Linked DNA regions of Homo sapiens: regions 1, 2, 4 and 5 are each linked to region 3. Evidence: promoter capture Hi-C in 16 types of primary human blood cells and fetal thymus (Javierre and others, 2016). All regions are on one chromosome and are shown on one strand. Each heading gives the region's core, a stretch centred on a gene start or on the middle of the fragment in contact. The rest is flanking DNA. Distances are from core to core; before and after follow the strand shown. Region 1 overlaps ARHGAP24 (Rho GTPase activating protein 24). Region 2 has its middle 110 kb from the start of ARHGAP24. Region 3 holds the start of ARHGAP24 (Rho GTPase activating protein 24). Region 4 overlaps ARHGAP24 (Rho GTPase activating protein 24). Region 5 has its middle 82 kb from the start of ARHGAP24.

Region 1 (2,700 bases), core at 75-2,574, 74 kb before region 3:
TGAGTACATACCCAAAGGAATATAAATCATTTTACCATAAAGACACATGCATATTTATGTTCATCACTGTACTATTCACAATAGCAAAGATGTGGAATCAGCCTAAGTGCTAATCAATGTTAGATTGGATAAAGAAAATGTGGTACATATGTACCATGGAATACTATGTAGCCATAAAAAAGGAGATCATGCCCTTTGCAACAACATAGAGCTGGAGACCATTATGCTAAGAGAACTGACACAGGAACAGAAAACCAAATACTGCATGTTCTCACTTATATGTGGGAGCTAAACATTGAGTACACATTGGCACAAAGAAGGGAGCGAGAGATGCCAGGGCCTACTTGAGGGTAGAGGGAGGGAGCAGCATAAGGATCAAAAAACTACCTGTGGAGCACTGTGCTTATTACCTGGGGTAGTGAAATAATCTGTACACGAAACTCCTGAAACATGCAATTTACCCATATAACACACCTGCACATTTACACATGAACCTGAAATAAAAGTTAAAAAGAAAAACAGTGTATAGGCAAGCCAGAGACTGTCAGAAAATATTTGCAAAGCATATATCTGTTAAAAAAACTTATATCCATAATATACAAATGACTCCTACAACTCAATCTAATTAAGAAAATGAGAAAAGATTTAAATAGGCACTTCACAGAGGAACAAACAGAAATACCCAATAATCTCATGAAACAGTCCTAGCATCATTAGATATCAGAGAATTGCACATTATAAACACAATCCGGTATCATTACATGCCCATTTGAATGGCTAAAATTTAAAAAGACTGACAATACCAAATGTTGATGAGGATATGAAATAACTAGAATGTTCATATATTGCTGGTGAAAGTGTAAATGGTGCAACCACTTTAACAAAATGTTTGGCAATTTCTTATAAAATTAAATATACCTGTATCTATGACTTAGTGATTCCAATTCAGACGTTCAACCAAGAGAAATGGAATCCTTATGTTCTCAAGATTTACACAAAAATGTTCATTGTAGTTTTATTTATATTAGCCAGAAACTGGAAGTAACCCAAATGCTACTCATCAAGAGGGAACAGATAAACAAAGAGCATGGCTTGGTTTCTTTTAGCAACCAAAAGAAACAAACTGTAGATATACATATAACAACATGTATAAATCCAGCAGTCATTATAATGAGTGAAAGAAGCCAGATACAGAAGAGTCACTGCACGATTCCATAAATAGAAGTTCTAGATGAGGCAAAACTAGCCTATAGTGATAGAAATCAGGAAACTAGCTACTCCTGAGGGGTATATACTGACGGGAAAGGGGCACAAGGGACCTTTCTAAGGTGATGGAAATGTCTTACATCTTGATGAGACAGGAGAAACATGGGTCTAGATGTTTGTCTAATTTCCTGAACTATGCACTTGATATCTGTGCACAAATTATTTTGCTCTAGTAAATTTTATTCCAAAAAGCTGTTAAAAAGTTGAATTCTAGTTAGTAGATTTGCTTTTCTGGCTGTGGTGTAGGTTAGCAATTCTGAAATTGCTTTCTTGTATTCCAAGTCGAGCAAACAGACACATATATTGAATATAACAAATGTGAAGTTAGGTTTCTTACTTTTGGAAAAGAGTTACAAATGAGAAAATTAGGACACCAGAATGCATCCTGTAGTTTGAGACTGGAATCAGAGGTATCAGTATGAACTCATGGTTTTTCATCGATAGGCACATAGATATAGAAATAAAAATCAACATATATTCACTAATGCTTCTGGCTGACAGGGCCTAGAAGTATTAACATATCAGTAGCAACGAGTACACCTAGTGTCCAGATCTTGACTTCTAAATGCCATCCACTTCTCAATGGAAGCAAAGCTGTGTGGATGAAAGGCTGATTCCAGGGTGTGGACAAGGAAAATACAAAATGAGCCTAGAATAACATGTGCCAGAAAGTAAGGAAATCCTCAAGAATGATGGGGAGGTATCAAAAGGCACAAAAACTAATATGAAGTGGCTTTCAATGGATAAATCTGGGAAAATTTGAGCATCTGAATAAATAATAATAGTATTTAAATATTTACGGCTATAATGGATTATAGACATAGAATAAAACAAGAATACATGAATCCCATTGATATCATAAATAAACAAATAAATAAATGAGAGACATGGGAAAGCTCTTCCTTTCAGCAGAATGTCAATTATTCAATTTGAAAGGAATAATGGAATTACAAATTAACAATGGATGCAAAAACTAGTAGGTAGAAGTTTGACAGAAAAAAGATATTTAAATAGTGTCAAAGTTTCTTCTTACAAATTAATTATTATTTAGCAAGGGTGAAACACTCGTTTTACTGTGGAGAAACCTGGCAGACACAGTGATCAAAGTTTACATTGCCAGCCAGGCACAGTGGCTCAAGCCTGTAAACCCAGCACTTCGGGAGGCTGAGGTGGGCGGATTGCTTGAGCTCAGGTGTTTGAGACCAGCCTGGGGCAACATAATGAAAACCCATCTCCACAAAATTACAAAATTTAGCTGGGCATGGTGGTGCGTGACTGTAGTCTCAGCTACTCAAGAGGCTGAGGTGGGAAAATCATCTGATCCTGGGAGGTCGAGACTACAGTGACCTGTGATCGCACCACTACTCTCCAGTCCAGGTGACAGAGAGAGATTCTGTCTGAAAAAAAAAAATTACATTGCCAGTATTGAATACA
Region 2 (2,748 bases), core at 117-2,616, 110 kb after region 3:
CTAGCCACAATATTCTTTTAAATCAAAGCCTAATTCACAATGAGGCCCTAATTCTGTTCAATTCTGTGATGGCTGAGAGAGGTGAGGAAGCTGCAGAAGAAAAGTTGAAAGTTAGAAAGGTTGGTTTATGAGGTTTAAAGAAACAAGTTATCTCCAAACATAAAAGTGCAAGATGAAGCAACAAATGCTCATGGATAAGCTGCGTCTGAGTTATCCAAAAGATACAGTGCAATCATTGATGAAGGTAGCTACACTACACAACAGATTTTCAATGTAGGTGAAACAGCCTTCCATTGGAAGATGCCATCTGGGACTACCGTAGCTACAGAGGAGAAGTCTGCGTCTGGTTTCAAAGGACTGGATAATGCAGCTGGTGACTTCAAGTTGAAGCCAATGCTCATTTACCATTCTGAAAATTCTAGAACCCTTAAGAATTATGCTAAATGTACTCTGCCGATGCTCTAGAAATGCAACAATAAATCTGGATGACAGCATGTCTGTTTACAATATGATTTTCTGAATATTTTAAGCCCAGTGTTGAGATCTACTGCTCAGAAGAAAGAATCCTTTCAAAATATGACTGCTCATGGAAAATGCACCCTGTATCCCACAATCTGTGATGGAAAGGTACAAGAATATTGATGCTATTTTCATGCCTGCTAACACAATATCTAATCTGTAGCCCATGGATCAAGGAGTAATTTTGACTTTCAAGTCTTATTATTTAAGAAACACATTTTTAAAGTTATAGATGCCATAGATAGTGATTCCTCTCATGAATCTAGCCAAAGTAAATTGAAAACCTTCTAAAAAATATTCACCATTTGAGATGCCATTAAACATTCATGAATCATGGGAGGAGGTCAAAATATCAGCATTAACAGGAAATTGGAAGGAATCAATTCCAACTCTAATGGATAACTTTGAGGGTTTAAAGATTCAGTGTAGAAAGTCACCACAGATATGGTCAAAATGGCAAGAAAACTAGAATTGGAAATAAAGCCTGAAGATGTGGCAAATTTCTACAAGCTCATAAAGCTTGAATGGATGAGAAGTTGCTTCTTATGGATGAGCAAAGAGTGGTTTCTTGAGATGGAATCTACTGCTGGTAAAGATGCTACAAACATTGGTGAAATGACAACAAAGGATTTAGAATATTACATAAGCATGGTTGATAAATGAAGTAGCCACAAGGGTTTGAGAAGATTGACTAATTTTGAAAGAAGTTTCAATGTGAATAAAGCAGCAACTCATGCCTCAGTGAAATCTTTTGTGTAAGAGTCAAATCAGTGTTGCAAATATTATTGTTATCTTATTGTAAGAAATTGCCACAGCCACTCCAACCTTCCACCACCACCCTGCTCAGTCAGCAGCCATCAACATTGCAGGAAGCTCCTCCATCAGTAAAAAGATTATGACTCACTGAAGGCTCAGATGATCATTAGCATTTTTATCAATGAAGTATTTTTAAATTAAGGTATGAACATTATTTAGACATAATGCTATTGCACACTTACTAGACTACAGCATAATGTAAACATTGCTTTTATGTGCACCAAGAAACCAAAAAATTTATTTGACTGGTTTTATTGTAATTCACTTTATTGCAGTGGTCTAGAACTGAACCTGAATATCTTCAAGATATGCCTGTACTTTAAAAAAATCTTCTAATACTGCAGTTAAACAAAGCTTATTTGAAGCGAGAAAATTAAGCTTGCTTTTTTTTAAATCAGTTTGGGTTAAATTTGCCTATAGCATTCATCAAACGTTAGTGGTCAATAAAAAAATCTAATAATTATATATTAAGAAAGCCATTTGCCCAAAATCAAGGGGAAGAAGAATTCTGGGTCATAAGGCACTGTGCTCTAGAAGCCAATAGAAGTGAATCAAGGTAAAATGAAGGTAGCTGGACTCTAAAAGCCACTCTTCAACAAAATACTATAGAGAGAAAATGGTGTCTGAATTTTTAAAATAAAAGAAGCAGCAGGAGCTTTAACAGCAGAAGCATTTTTCTTTTCCAGGTTTTAATGATTTTGCTGAAAGTTAGTAAAAATTTTCAATAAAGTTTCATGACATTTTAAATAAATTTTAGAAATTAAATTAAGAAAAATTGTATAAAATTTACAGGTAATACTCTTTTTTATCCAATACCAAGTAATAAAATTTCATTTAAAAGAAAATGTGACGGAACTGAAATGTAAGAGGATGGAAGAAGTCTTTAATGAATAACAAGATGTTTATTCTGGGGAGAATATTCTCCATGTGGTCATCAAAACCATGGAATGATGATGAATATTATATAATGGAAGAACTACACATATGCCTATTGAGTAACTTGTTCCTACATTACAAAAGTCTTGTTTCTTCAAGTTTACTGTTTTTCTCTTATTAGGTTAGGTCCTTCACAAAACCTCTGAATAAAGTCTATATTTAGTGTAATGTTTATTAATAGGTAATGAATGAAGTTAAGTAGAGGCAAAACAATTGAAACAACATGCAAATAATACACAACATTTTTATGTTTTGTTTTATTGTAGCTGAGAAATGTAATGGCCACCAATCACAAATCTGCTTCAGTGGAAACTGAGGCATAAAAGAGGTTAAGTAAAACAGACATAATAGTAATGATAGCAGCTACTTCATAGAGTCTTTAGAAGGTTTACATGAAATAAAATATATAATGCACTTAGTGACTAGCAAATACGATAGTCCATAGTAAACAAAGCATAATTATCATTCTTTTTGCTA
Region 3 (2,700 bases), core at 97-2,596:
TCAGCACGATTTATTTATTTCCTTTTTAGAAAGAGATGAAACAATGATGCCGTGGAAGGTTAAAAAAAGAGTAACATAAAATGTGCTGGAAACAGAAATTACTTGGAGAAATTACTTGTTTAATTCAAATGAATTAAACGAGATATAGTCTACAAAGAAGTCTGGGCTCCCTATTACTGGTTGATGCTGAAAATCTATCTAAGGAATTCAGAGTAACATTGTCTCCCTTCTATTTGGGTACGTATAAAATAAATGTAGTCTTAAGTATTTTCTAAAAACGAGACCATATTACATGTTTATCATTAAATGTTATTTTTAAAAACATTTGGACAAAATCTTTTGAGTGGCTTCAAATTCACCAAAGATTCCCTAACGTTTTGTGTTTACAAATATATGTATATATTTTATAATATATATTTCTAATATGTAATATATTTATAAATATTTTAAAACATATTTTATACATATAAAATATATATTTTTGCAAATATATATGCTTATTATTAAAACCTATCTTTGTGCGCCTGTTACATAGGGAACTCCTATAAGATACTAGAGGAAACAAACAAGGGGAAGGGGAGGATGGATACCAAGAGAGGAAATTGAATTGTACAAAGGGTTTTTATTAATTCCATCTATTTTTAAAGCCAGAAAGACATACTACCAGCTTGCTGTCTCCCGGCACAAACATGCGCGCGCGCGCACACACACACACAAACACAGACAGGCTACATCAGCACGGGATTCCTGCGATCCCTCCCCGCCCCCCGCAGCCCCCTCCCCGCCCCCCGCAGCCCCCTCCCCGCCCCCCGCAGCCCCCTCCCCGCCCCCCGCAGCCCCCTCCCCGCCCCCCGCAGCCCCCTCCCCTGGCGCAGGCAGCCGCGTCCGTCCTTCCCGCGGTAGCTCCGCGCACTTCCTCGCGACCGCATCACCTACCTTGCTGGGAGCTCAAGACAGATGCCGGACAGGGCTGCTGCTCCGAAGGAAAAGGCTCCCAGGACCAGCAGTAAGAAAACGCAAAGAAAAAAAGGTGGTAGTGAGGCTCCTTTACTTTCCACAACAAGGGGAAGTGTTGAACTCTATGCACTGGGCTGCTCCGCAGCGCGGGTTTCGGAGGAAATAGGCGGCCGAGAGAGCTGCGCCTGCGATGGGAAGTTGGGGGGATTCCCCCAGCCACCCAGCCACCCCCGCCAGGCTCCTCTCTGGTCCCCGCCGCAGCCTTGACAGCTCCCCTGGTCTCCGAGCCCCTCCAGAGCCCTGCTGGTTTCCACCCGGAGCTGGGCTGTGTTGCCACATGCACTTGAGAAATCCTAGCAGTTGCGCAAAGAGTCCCAGAAGTTAGAAAGGGTGATTGTGTGTGAATGTGTAAATATACAGTACAAGAGGCTGGAACAACTGAGTGGGGCCAACCCTCAGACACAGCTCGAGGTTTCAGATTTCATTTGGCAACTGGTAGCTTCACAGGACTCGAGCCGCACTACAGGGGAGGCCGGCAGGAGCCCCGCCCTCCCAAAGCCTGGGTTATCTGAGAGCTGGAGCTACACCGCCTGGCGCCACTGACAGAATGCGCCCTGCCTGGTTCCTCCGCATCTGGCATCGCTCGTTCCTTTCAAGTGCATCATAGATACTTGTTGGCCACAGATCTGGGGCTGTGGGCGCGAGAAGGTTGGTGAATACATGTCTCCTGCCCTCAAGGAGCTCTGCATTTCATTGGCCAAACCCCATACACCGGTTTTACTTGCTTCTACCAACTCTGTCTCGCTAACATTTTATTTCTCCAATTAGAATTACCTGGGCCATTAAAGCAATATTCCTGGAAATGCACATTTAGATGGATGCTCTCTAACTAGAGCCTTAGAGAAATTCAAAGTATAATTACTTTCTTACGGTGGTGTAAGAACTCTCGGAGTTACACAATATGGGACAAAAGGACAAACTAGTAAACATTGTTTTGATGCAGGCCGTCTCTTCCCACCATCACCACAATGTCTGTTTCAAATTGTGATCTTACAGTTCTGGTTACCTGGCATGCTGAGTCAAATTATTTCAAAAAGCTTTGTAAAGATCTCTGTTTTAGAAACCCACTTACAGTGGATCAGTCATGCAATCCTAGCACTTTGGAAGGCTGAGGCAGGAGGATCGCTTGAGCCCAGGGGTTTCAGACCAAAATTGGCAACATAATGAGACTCCTGTCTCTATAAAAAAAAAATTAAAAAAATAAAAAAAAAGTTGGGCGTGGCGGCGTATGTCTGTAGTCCCAGCTACTCAGGAGGCTGAAGCGGGAAAATCCCTTGAGCCCAGGAGGTCAAGGCTGCAGTGAGCTATAATTGTGCCAGCGCACTCCAGCCTAGGTGACGGAGTGACACCCCCGTCTCGAACAATTACTACTGCTACTACTAATAAAAGAAACTCTCTTTTAGAAATCATCACCAGATATCCTTAAGACACAGAATGGGGGTGTCCTCACTAGGGATCTCCAGTGAGAGAGGGATATGGAAGAAGAGCAAATGTTTAGTTTTAGAAACACCAAAAATAAAAGGCTGAGTGGACACTGATATGTTTTTCCTTTTTGTCCTCTTTCTCCAAGTTCTTGGAGAAACGAATCTACCCCATCCCATGCTGAGGTCCTACTATAAACTTGATTTTCTGGTGGGAGAATTCTCAGCCCTTTAATGAATCAAATTAATTTGTGTGGGGAAA
Region 4 (2,789 bases), core at 54-2,553, 93 kb before region 3:
CCCAGTAAGAACAGAGAAGGTGGACATTCTGGGGGAGCCAGGGACAAGTGGTTAAAAGAGATTTTCCTGTCCCAAAATCTTCTTCCAAATTCTTGCTAATGTTTATTTCTAAACATTTATTCAGGAATTGGGAAGCCCTCTCTAACTCTTGTGTCTTTGATGAGGTTATAAAGATATTGATTATCTGATAAAACGTAGATTATTCCTGTCCAGGCATATATTATCTGATAAAACGTAGATTATTCCTGTCCAGGCATATAAACAAAGTCCCTGTTTTATCATTTCTGATCAATTCTGGAAGACAAGCTGTCTTTCTGTCTGGTCTTTATATTCATCACTATTTTTTAATCAATTTGCATGTATACAATTCTACTTATAAATTCCATGAAGTTTCTATTGTCAGCCCTTGGTCATTTTTGTTTCTTCCTTGAAGGCTCAGGGTCAAATCTTCCATAATTGCACTTCAAGTTCTCTCAATTTAGTCCTGCCATTCCTGTTGCAGGGATGAAGCAGAACTTTCGTTCTAATTACTTCTTATTTTAATAACTTCAACCATCTTTGCAGAAGATTTGCCTCCTTCACTGGCATATATTTCAATCTATCACTATCCTTGCCTTAATCTTCACCTCTTAAACTACTTTTAAACTTCAAGGAGGTCACTTGACTATTTTCTGTCTCATTCAATACGCACTTCTTTCCTTTCTTAAAAAACAGGCCCCTGTCTCTACAATACGTCTGGACACTTCCTTTGCTCTATGGGGCATTCCATGACCATAACCACTTATTGCAGAAAACACTCTCCCCTCAGGTGTGTGCCCGTGTGTCTGCAGACTGGACCATGCCTGATGCCTCCAATTTGCTATGCCCTGCAGAGCAGGAACTTTCATCTCCTTTCTTTCGCAGTACCCGACCTACTATGATGAGCCAAGAACTCCACTCTAACTGAACAATTAATGCTGTAAGGTAATTTAGATAATAAGTATGCTTAGCTAGACCACCCTAAATAATCTTTTTCATCTCCTGGTATTTAAACTGCTTAAATCTACACAACTTGCTGTTTCATCACTGCCTATTTATTCTTTGACCAAACACCTTAATTTATAAAGTTAAATGGGACCTTAAAACAAACATTCCACCACACACACACGCCCCCCTCCCCCCCGCAACAAACATGCACACACAAATCTAGAATTCATTGCACAACAAATTACTTAGGGCCCTTAGGTAATTTTTTCTTTCCTCTCAAATTCATGCTTTCTATGAAGTTTGAAAAATTCCCTCTAAAATGCTTCAAGGTTATTAGCAACCTACCATTGATAATATAAAAAATACAAGTAGATATTTCCCCTTTTGTGTACATTAATGCCTTAGTGAGAAATGTGTGTACACTAGAACATGGTTTCTGATTCCTTTTGCATATGTTGTTTATAAGTCTGACCGAAGTCAATGACAAATTGCCCACTGAACTGACTATAATGCCTATATTTTTATGATTTCAGAATGCATCGGAAAGTGCTTTACTAATGCTAATTGAAGACTAATTGTAACAATTCATTAAAACAGAAATGAAAACAGACTTATATGCCTAAGGGAAAAAATGCCACAACTATTGTTAGATGAGGAAAATTAAGTTTTACTAAAACAACCATAATTTTTATAGAGAAGTCTTAATATTTCTGGAGAAATAAAATGATTAAAATTCTACACTTCATCTTTAAAATGAGGATGCTGGGCTGGATTATTTCCAACTATGGTCTCTTCTAGCACTCTGAAATCTATCATCTCTGTAATTCCATAAGTGTAGGGACATCAGATACCCTTACTACTCAGTACGATGTCTGGCATGCAGTGAAGCTCAATCAATGTTTGATGAAGTAATCAATTTTGCAATAGGTTTCATACTAAGTGTCTAAAAGTGAACACGATCTCCCTTTGAAACATGATCTTCCCCCAAACCTGATCTTAGTAAATGACACCATGATACACCCAGTTGCAAAGAAAAATATACAGAAAACTGATCATTTGATTCATAACTCTTCCTCACCCCGGATATCAAATCAATCAGTAAATTCAGAATACCTCTAAAAAATAGTTCAAATCCATCCTTTTGGCTTCATCTCTATTGCCACCTTATGGTGCAGTCCACTATTATCTTTTGAGGAGATGATTCTAATAGCCTTCCAAGGAGTCTCACTGCTTCCATTTTTAGCCATAAACACAAACACACAGGTACATGCTCACACATATTTCATTCTCTAAAATGCAGCCAAAGCGAGCTTTTAAAGATTCAAATCAGATAAGGATTCTCAACATCTGAAAATGTTGTTGGCTTCCCACTGTACTTATTTCAAAATCCAGAGTCTTACCATGGCCTATAAGGCTCTGAATCATCTGGCACCTCTTTACCTCTCTAACCTAATCTCATGCCACCTTCTCCCCATCCCTCCCCATACCATACACATACATACTTAACCACTCTTGTCTCCTTTCAGTTCTGGAAACAGCCAAGCTCCTTTATCCCTTGCTGATTTCTGCCTAGAAAACTCTGTCTTGGGCTCTTTTCATGCTCAACTCCTTTTTATCTAAGTTTTGGCTTAAAATCTGTCTCCTCCAAAAACCTTCACTAATCACCCTGTGAATCAGGTAACCTCTTTCTATTCTCTATCGCTGAACTGTGTCCTTTGTCTCCCTGACACTTCTCTAAATTGCTATGTCTTTAGTTGTTTATTGTCTATCACCCCACCAGGAGACCATAAGCTTCACGAGGTCAAGGACATGGCTTTCCTTGC
Region 5 (2,700 bases), core at 201-2,700, 82 kb after region 3:
TGTTGATTATAAAAGGGCTTGAAGCTATGAGTTCAATCTCTTACTCTCTTGCCCTCTGTTTACCCTTCTGCCATGTGATGACACAGCAAGAAGCCCCTATCCAGTTGCTGATCCCTCAACCTTGGACTTCCCAGACTCCAGAACCATGAGCCAATAAATTTCTGTTTATTATAAATTACCCGATCTGTGGTATTCTGTTATAGCAGCTGAAAACAGACTAAGACAGTTTCCATATAAGGGGACAAAGAGACCAGAGCTCCTTCTCTCCCTACCATGTGAAGGTATAGCAAGGAGACATCAAACTGCAAACCAAGAAGTGGGCCCTCACTAGGAACTGAATCTACTGGTACTGTGATCTTGGACTTCCCGGCCTTTAGAACTGTGATAAATTTCTGTTGTTTAAGCCACCTGGTTTATGATATTTTGTTATAGCAACCCGAGACAACTTAGGGCATCAATAAAACTGTGGCATGATAACTTGTCAGGTTGCCAGTAGAATAAAATCTCAAACTCTTGACAATTGTTGACATACACTTCTACTTTGTTTAATAATACGGACTTCTTAGATAATGACTTATTTGGGAGCCATGCTAATGAGAGGCACTGTCTAGTGTAAAAGACACGGTTGGCCATTTCCAACTTTTTACCAGTTCTCACTCTGAAATAAATTCAAAATTTTTTGAAAGACACAAAATATTTTACTTAAATGGTGTAAAAGCCCATACAAAATATTCATACTGTTTCATCACTGAATAATAGCATGTCAGCTTTACACATTGTAACATATCTGGCAGGCTGAGGAAAAGCCCTATCCCTGAGACATATACGTATATATACACACGCATATACACATACAAACACATGTATCACACAAACACATATGCACACGCACACACATAGTCCATAAGACTAGATTATGTTCTGGAACCAGTTATCTAAGAATACAAAGTATGTTTAAAAAGCAAAGTAGCCTCAACTTTGCTTTTTAAAAAAAGCAAAGCTGTGAGAAAGCCTAGCTATGAGAAGGCCTAATAGGAAACACAAGCTGTAAATGTCATATTTATGCAAAGAATGGTCTCACTGCATCCAGAACACTTAATTCTTACAGTGCAACCATCCTTTTATTCTTCTGACTCACATCACCTTTTTAGAAGCACTTGCAATAAAAACCAATGCTTTGTACTCTATAGAAATGCTTACAAGCATAGGACTTTCTGGGATTTGAACTGAAATCAGATTCAGCAAATCTTCAGCCTGATATTGGGGTAGTGGGTGTGTGGGTGTGGTGAGGAATGATAGTTTAGCTTCAGCTTTCCAGGTGAGCCCACGCCCTCACAGTCATCCTTGCATGAAGGGAATTAGTCAAGAGATAATATTTAGAGTGTTTCAGTTTCATGCAAATATCCAGTTCCCCTAAAACCTAAAGCGATAATGAAAATTCTGTAACTTACACTTCACTGATTTGCATAAGCCTTGCCCATTCCCTATATTCTTATAAAATTGTCATAAATGTTTCCATCTTTAAAATAACCAATTAATAACTTTATACGTGGCAGGGCCTGTGGTAGCATGAAGGAACTAGATACCTGTGGTAGAAGGGAGGGAGATTTAAAAGATATGAATGTACAAATGAAGAAAAAAATTATTGTACTGAAAACTTAACCTTTATCTTTGAAATAAAAATGCTATATTCCTCCCCATTGTGCCTAGGTAGGTCCTAGCCAAGAAGGCAGCATAATGCAATGAAAATAATAAAGACTTTGGATTTGAAGTTAAGCAAAGCAGGCTTCTAATACTAGCTTCTCTCTCATTAGCTGTGTGACCTTAAGAAAGATAACCTGTTTGGGCTCTAGTTACCTGATCTATGCAAAACTCAAAACAAAAACCTGTTATGAAAGATTATTGACAACATAAAATGTTACAATTCATTAGCACCTGTAACATAGCATTCTGTGTCAGCCAATGTCATTATTATTATTAATTAGTATTATTATCATTAACCATTAAACTACATTATTTAATCCCATCACAGGGTGTACTCACACACACACTCACAGTTGCTCAGACTGGACCATTTAGACACAGCAATTAACCAAACATGCCCATTTCTGAAGGTGTAGGAGGAAACTAGCATACCCAGAGAAAACAGATATCTATAAATAGAAATCTATCTATAAATAGATATAAATAGATATCTATAAATAGATATAAATAGATATCTATCTATAAATAGATATGTTTTCCCAAATTAAATCAGATTTAAGTGATATGTCTGACTATATAAACAGATCTCTTACACTTGGATGTTGATTCTCATACAGTCAGAGCAAAGCCATGGTGAAGAAAATTCCTCTGTGCATATATAAATATTGGCGAGAAGGAGAGGAATGTGTATGTATTTTACATGTGTTTAATATACTTATTATTTTTACAACACAAACAATATAAATTAAAGTGTGACTCTTGAAGGTTGAAAGTCTGCAAAAGACAGAGGGGATGCAGAAACATTGTGGGTTAAAAATGACAGCTCAGAGGACACTATGAGTCAGAACTAGAAACCAGAAGTCCTTCATTTCTACTGTCTTGATAAAAACGTCTAAATCACCTATTTTTTCTGTGCTAAGTTTCCTCCTTAAGTATAGGTTAAGCATTCATCCAATTTTTTAAAACATACACATTAGATCCAAACCATGTACAATT

Evidence for each region. Contacts are between HindIII fragments. The CHiCAGO score rates a contact against its expected background, and 5 or more counts as called.
Region 1: a fragment that was not itself captured here is called in contact with the fragment with the promoter of ARHGAP24 in region 3 in 1 of 17 cell types (total B cells); the score reaches 8.8 in total B cells.
Region 2: a fragment that was not itself captured here is called in contact with the fragment with the promoter of ARHGAP24 in region 3 in 2 of 17 cell types (total B cells and naive B cells); the score reaches 11.8 in total B cells.
Region 4: a contact is called between a fragment that was not itself captured here and the fragment with the promoter of ARHGAP24 in region 3, in 2 of 17 cell types (total B cells and naive B cells). The highest score is 13.5, in total B cells.
Region 5: a fragment that was not itself captured here is called in contact with the fragment with the promoter of ARHGAP24 in region 3 in 2 of 17 cell types (total B cells and naive B cells); the score reaches 11.0 in total B cells.

The regions. Positions count from the first base shown.
Region 1 is chr4:85,547,420-85,550,119 of GRCh38, reverse strand. The region is part of intron 1 of ARHGAP24 (Rho GTPase activating protein 24); the gene reads right to left. Among named protein-coding and RNA genes, the nearest start is that of ARHGAP24, 74 kb to the right of the region's middle. The HindIII fragment of the contact is 8,939 bases long and covers 1-2,700 here.
Region 2 is chr4:85,359,424-85,362,171 of GRCh38, reverse strand. No RefSeq gene overlaps it. Among named protein-coding and RNA genes, the nearest start is that of ARHGAP24, 110 kb to the left of the region's middle. The HindIII fragment of the contact is 651 bases long and covers 1,041-1,691 here.
Region 3 is chr4:85,473,796-85,476,495 of GRCh38, reverse strand. ARHGAP24 (Rho GTPase activating protein 24) reads right to left here and starts at 1,346. Exons shown (of 10, transcript NM_001025616.3): 1 at 937-1,346. The HindIII fragment of the contact is 5,990 bases long and covers 1-2,056 here.
Region 4 is chr4:85,566,684-85,569,472 of GRCh38, reverse strand. The region is part of intron 1 of ARHGAP24 (Rho GTPase activating protein 24); the gene reads right to left. Among named protein-coding and RNA genes, the nearest start is that of ARHGAP24, 93 kb to the right of the region's middle. The HindIII fragment of the contact is 2,912 bases long and covers 1-2,759 here.
Region 5 is chr4:85,392,053-85,394,752 of GRCh38, reverse strand. No RefSeq gene overlaps it. Among named protein-coding and RNA genes, the nearest start is that of ARHGAP24, 82 kb to the left of the region's middle. The HindIII fragment of the contact is 3,863 bases long and covers 1-2,700 here.